Linked DNA regions of Homo sapiens: region 1 is linked to region 2. Evidence: promoter capture Hi-C in human tissues and cell types (Jung and others, 2019). All regions are on one chromosome and are shown on one strand. The core of a region is centred on a gene start or on the middle of the fragment in contact, and the rest is flanking DNA. Distances in the headings are between cores, read along the strand shown. Region 1 overlaps LINC01841 (long intergenic non-protein coding RNA 1841). Region 2 holds the start of DCAF15 (DDB1 and CUL4 associated factor 15).

Evidence for each region. Contacts are between HindIII fragments. The study calls those that stand out against the background at their distance.
Region 1: a fragment that was not itself captured here is called in contact with the fragment with the promoter of DCAF15 in region 2 in 3 of the 25 tissues and cell types used here (dorsolateral prefrontal cortex, lymphoblastoid cells and spleen).

Annotation. Positions count from the first base shown.
Region 1 is chr19:14,336,334-14,339,096 of GRCh38, reverse strand. The region is part of intron 1 of LINC01841 (long intergenic non-protein coding RNA 1841); the gene reads left to right. All of the region lies in intron 1 of LINC01842 (long intergenic non-protein coding RNA 1842), which reads right to left. Among named protein-coding and RNA genes, the nearest start is that of LINC01842, 4.0 kb to the right of the region's middle. RefSeq lists enhancers at 1-116, 117-617 and a silencer at 1,314-1,514. The HindIII fragment of the contact is 5,959 bases long and covers 1-2,763 here.
Region 2 is chr19:13,951,101-13,953,800 of GRCh38, reverse strand. DCAF15 (DDB1 and CUL4 associated factor 15) reads right to left here and starts at 1,292. Exons shown (of 13, transcript NM_138353.4): 1 at 1,157-1,292. The coding sequence starts at 1,288. It also overlaps a transcript of PODNL1 not described here. RefSeq lists a silencer at 1,070-1,209 and an enhancer at 1,870-1,919. The HindIII fragment of the contact is 40,615 bases long and covers 1-2,700 here.

The sequences.
Region 1 (2,763 bases), core at 178-2,677, 390 kb before region 2:
GAGGCGGTGAAACTCTAATTAGAATGAAAATGTAGTTTAATGAGGATGAAAACGGTAATTGTGCCAGGCAGCGCAGTTCAGAAGTGTCGCTTTCCCTTGGGGCACCTTGCTGGCCTCTGAGGCTCTGGGCATGGGTGAGAAGGACTCAGGGCTGGGAAGGCAGGGGATTGTCAGTGCCTCAGTTTCCCCCCAAAGTGTCCTCCCGCTGGCATGGGGTAAAGAGCCTGTGTAGAGCCCCACGTGCCCCTGGGGCTGGTTCCAGGTGCCCAGAGCAACGTTTTTCCATCCCACACTTTATTCCTATTAATAATACAACCATCCGTGGAACCATATCAGTGATGCCATTTATTGAGTGCCTACTATGTGCCAGGTACCATTCTAACCCCTTCACAGATGCTAACTCAGGTAATCCTTAAAATTATCCTCATTTTACAGATGGGAACACTGAGGCACAGATAAACCATTGACCCTGGTAGGGATATTTTAAAGAGCGGGTGAGGGCCGGGCGTGGTGGCTCACACCTGTAATCCCAGCACTTTGGGAGGCTGAGGCGGGCGGACCACTTGAGGTCAGGAGTTCAAGACTAGCCTGAAAAACATGGCAAAACCCCATCTCTACTAAAAATACAAAAATTAGCCGGAGGTAGTGGTGCGTGTTTGTAGTCCCAGCTACTTGGGAGGCTGAGGCAGGAGAATAGCTTGAACTCAGGAGGCGGAGGTTGCAGTGAGCCGAGATGGTGCCACTGTACTCCAGCCTGGATGACAGAGAAGGACTCCGTCTCAAAAAAAAAAAAAAAAAAAAGAGTGGGTGAGGAGAAAGGTGGAATACAGTAGCCAGGTGCCTCCTTCTTTCTTTTTTTTATTTTCTTTTTCTTTTTTCTTTTCTTTTCTTTTCTTTTTTTTTTTTTTTTTTTGAGACAGTCTTGCTTTGTTGCCCAGGCTGGAGTGAAGTGGTGTGATCTCGGCTCACTGCAACCTTCGCCTGCTGAGTTCAAGCGATTCTCGTGCCTCAGCCTCTTGAGTAGCTGGGATTACAGGCATACACGACCACACCGGCTGATTTTTGTATTTTTAGTAGAGATGGGGTTTTGCCATGTTGATCAGGCTGGTCTTGAACTCCTGGCCTCAAGTTCAAGATTTGCCTGCCTCGGCCTCCCAAAGTGCTGGGATTACAGGAGTGAGTCATTGCGCCCAGCTATCCTTTCTTTAACCAGGTGGGTGCTAGGGGCATGAAGGAATTGCCAGCCATCGAGGCCAGGGGATCTTCTCCCTCCTCCTCCCCCTGGCCCAGGATCCTCACTATTTCGGTTCTTCACTTCTTTTTAATGCTCTAATCACGCCTCTCTCTTTAATGCTCTAATCACACCTCTCCACTCGAAGGTGGGCGTGGCTAGACGATTGGTGGGCGTAGCTAGATGAGAGGGCGTGGTTTATGTACAGTGGGCATGGTTTGATACACAGTGGGCGTGGCTAGAAGCGCATTCTGCGTGGCAGAATTTACCAACCCATCTTAACTTGGAGGAATCAGAAACTGGAGCCATAGCAGTAAACTACAGAACCCAGACACAAAGCCGTGGCTTCTGGCCCCAGGGCCTGAGCTTTCTTGCCATGGAAAGCTGAAGGGTTCTTCAAGTGTTCTGGGTAAGACTGAGGTTCATAAGATCTCAAAGTCTCTGCTTTTGTTTCTGGAGGAACCGCCAATAAAATGCAACCTGCAATGAGGCCTAGACAGAAGAGAAATGTTCATTGAGGCCAGTTGGGCAATAAAAGGAGATCTAGCTGGAGTCCCAGATCAGAGGAGATAGCCAGCCTGGGCAACATAGTGAGACCCCATCCCTACAAAAATAATTTTTAAAAATTTATCTGGGCATGGTGGCACACACCTGTGGTCCCAGCTACTCAGGAGGCTGAGGCAGGAGGATGGCTTGAGCCCAGGAGGTTGATGCTGCAGTGATTGCGGTGAGCTATTATGGTGCCACTGCATTCCAGCCTGGGCAACGGAGTGAGGCTCTATCTCAAGAAAAAAAAGGAAAAGAAAAGATCAAGGGAGATTAGATTGTTTGCCACGTATATGGCAGACAAATCATTAAGAGCCTTAATATACAAAAAGCACATATGAATCAATAAGAAAAAAAAGACAAACATCCCAAATGTGAAATTGGCACAGGGCTTGAATAGGGGGTTCACAAAGGAGTGAGAGCTTAACAAACCTCTGTAAAGATGCTCAATCTGACCGTTCAGCTGAAGAATCACTTTTCCTTGTCAAGCTTATGAGTGTGTGTGAAGTTTTGGGAATGCACACTTGAGCACGGTCATGGGAGTTTAAATTGACACAACTTTTTTTTTTTTAATTTTTTGAGACAGGGTCTCACTATGTCACCCATGCTGGAGTGCAGTGGCACAATCACGGCTCACTGCAGCCTCAACCTCCTAGGCTTAAGGAATCCTCCCACCTCAGCCTGCCAAATAGCTGACTACAGGTACAGGTCACCACACCCAGCTAATTTTTTAAAAACTTTTTGTAACATGGGGTCTCACGACTTGCCCAGGCTGGTCTCAAACTCCTGATCTCAAGTGATCCTCCCTCCTCGGCCACCCAAAGTGCTAGGATTACAGATGTCAGCCACCGCACCCGGCCACGATACAACTTTCTTGGGATGGTGTTCTAGATATTAGTATTAAACCTTTAAGCATGTGGATTCTCTGACCCAGCAAATCCACCTCTAGGAATTTATGTCAGGGATATAATCAGTCAAATAGGTGG
Region 2 (2,700 bases), core at 43-2,542:
CCCAATTAACTACCGCCTTCCAACGGAATCCAAGGGAATCCCTCATCCCCAAAACTTCACCGCGGAAGGATCTGCGGGGACTGACAGGCAGAAGCCAGGCACAGGGATATCCGAACAGCCTCAGTCTTGCTACCCAACTCTGCCTTCAAGACATTCCAATCTGATGGGAAGAGTCCTGTCTGGGAAGCTCCCTGTCTGATGGGAGACAGCCCTGTCCACATGGAGGTCTCAGTCTGACGGAGGAAACAGCCTGGCCAGCCAGGCCCAGGCCGACAGGGGAGACACAGTCCCTGCCCAAGGAGCTTCCAAGCTAAGGGCGGAACCACAGCCAAGCCCAGGGAGCTCCCAGGCTAAGGGCGGAGACTGTCCCAGCCCAGGGAGCTCCCAGTCAAAAGGGGGAGACACAGCACTGCCCTTACAAAGCTACCAGCCTCACGGAGAAGGCGCAGTCCCTGTCCACAGAGACACAGCCTTGCCCCAGTTACTGCCCACCTGCAAGAGATCCACATTTCTGCCCTCCAGAGCTCCCAAACTGATGGGGGAGAGAGACATCATCCCCCAGCTCTGGGAGTTTCCAGTCTGATGGAGGAGACAGAGCCTGCTTCGGTAACTCTCACTCTGCGGGGGAAGACTCAGCCCTATCCAGGGAGCTCCCACACTTTCAATGGGGAGGCCCACCCAGGTACTGGAACTCCCAGCTCATGTGTGGTCGGGGCTTGGGCAGGGAGAGGAACATCAGGCGGAGGAAGCCCAAAGCCAGCGGCAGGGGCTCTGCAAAGGGGGCGGGAAGGTTCCATTATGGAGCAACCATGGGAGCAGAGCTTTGAAAAGCCTGGATCGCCCCCTTCCTCCTGATTCTCCCTGCGGCCTCTGGGGTCGCCTCCCTCCGAGCCCCCTCCCTGGGGCCCCGCCCCCAACCCCCTCCATCCCAGCCCCTTTGCCGGTCACCCGACACAACCACCTGCATCCAGGCCCCCAACTGAGCCCCCTCCATCCAAGCCATCTCCCCCGGGCCCCGCCCAGGCCCTGCATCCGAGCCCCCTCCCCTGGGGCCCCGCCCCCAACCCCTCACCCCGCGAACGCCCTCCTCCCTCCGCCTCCCTCGTCCCTACTCCCCACCCTCCGGCGCGCTCCCCACTCCGGCTCCAGGCCTCACCTTGACCCGCTCCAGCTGCTTGAGGACGTGCTCCCGCCGCCGCCCTGCTGCCCGCTTCCCTCCGGCTCCCCCGGGGCCGCCGCCGCCGCTCCCAGCCCCGCTGTTCCGCTCCGATTTCGAGCTGGGCGCCATTTTCACCCCCTCCCTCCACTTCCGGAGCAACCGGCCCCTTCGCCCCACCCCTGCCGCCTCCTCATTGGTCCTTTTTCGGGACAGCGGCCCGCCGGTTGGGCGAAAGCCCGCACTCGCGCTATGCCTGTCCATCAAAGCCATCTCGACTCTTGATTGGTAGCGACAGTAACAGCCCCCGCGGCCCGTTGCCGTATTCCCGCCCCGCCTTAAGGACGTACCACTCGGAGGTCCCGTTTGTTCGCCCTGCCCAGATAACTTTGATCTGATAGGTGAATATCTCTGTCTGTCTCAACGGCGTCACGCCCCCTGTGGCTGGCGGGTTTCCATGGAGACCACAGGCGGTCCAGGCCCTTGGGCGGGGCGACGGGAGCCTGTGGTCCACCAAGGCTCGAGAATCCTCAGCCCCGGGCTGCCCGCGCCCGGTCCAGGTGGGCAAAGGCCTGACGAGCATACTTGGGCGGCAGAGCCAGGCCGAGGAAAGAGATTTACAAAAAAGGAAAAAACGATGGGATTCGATGAAAGCTTGTTTCCGATGGGCGGGTTGGTGGGATGATGGTGGTGATAATGATAGCATCAATCATGGATCGCTCCACATGTGACAGACACGGTTCTGAGCTTAAACAGTTCGATGTGGCAGGGCCCTGTTGTGCCAATTATGCAGATCATAGCAATAAAAATAATTGTTGAAGGTCCGCTCCGTGCATCATATTCGTATACATTACCTCATTTATTTTATTTTTTTAGACAGAGTCTCACTTTGTCACCCAGGCTGGAGTGCAGTGGCGTGATCACGGTTCACTGCAGCCTCGACCCCGGGCTCAGATGATCCTCTCACCTCAGCCTCTCATGTAGCTAGGACTACAGGCGTGCGCCACCACGCCTGCCTAATTTTTTGTATTTTTAGTAGAGACGAGGTTTCACTATGTTGGCCAGGCTGGTTGCGAACTCCTGACCTCAGGTGATCCGCCCGCCTAGGCCTCCCAAAGTGCTGGAATTACGGGCATAAGCCACCGCGCCCGGCCTAATTTTTTGTATTTTTTGTAGGGACGGAGTTTCACCAAGTTGTCCAGGCTGGTCTCCAACACCTGGGCTCAAGTGATCCTCCCACCTCTGCTTCCCAAAGTGTTGGGAGGACAGGTGTGAGCCCCCACCCCTGGCCAGCCCATTTAATCCTCTGAACAATCTAGAAGATAGTTTTTTTTTATTGTCTTCATTAAAAAAATTTTTTTTGTAGAGATGGGGTCTCACTATGTTGCCCAGGCTGCTCGAAAACTCCTGACCTCAAGGGATCATCCCGTCTTGGCCTCCCAAAGTGCTGGGATTACAGGCATAAACCACTGTGCCCAGCTGATTTCAAGGGTTTTAGGAGTTATGTACTAGAAAACCTAAGACCAAAATATGGTTTTTTAAAA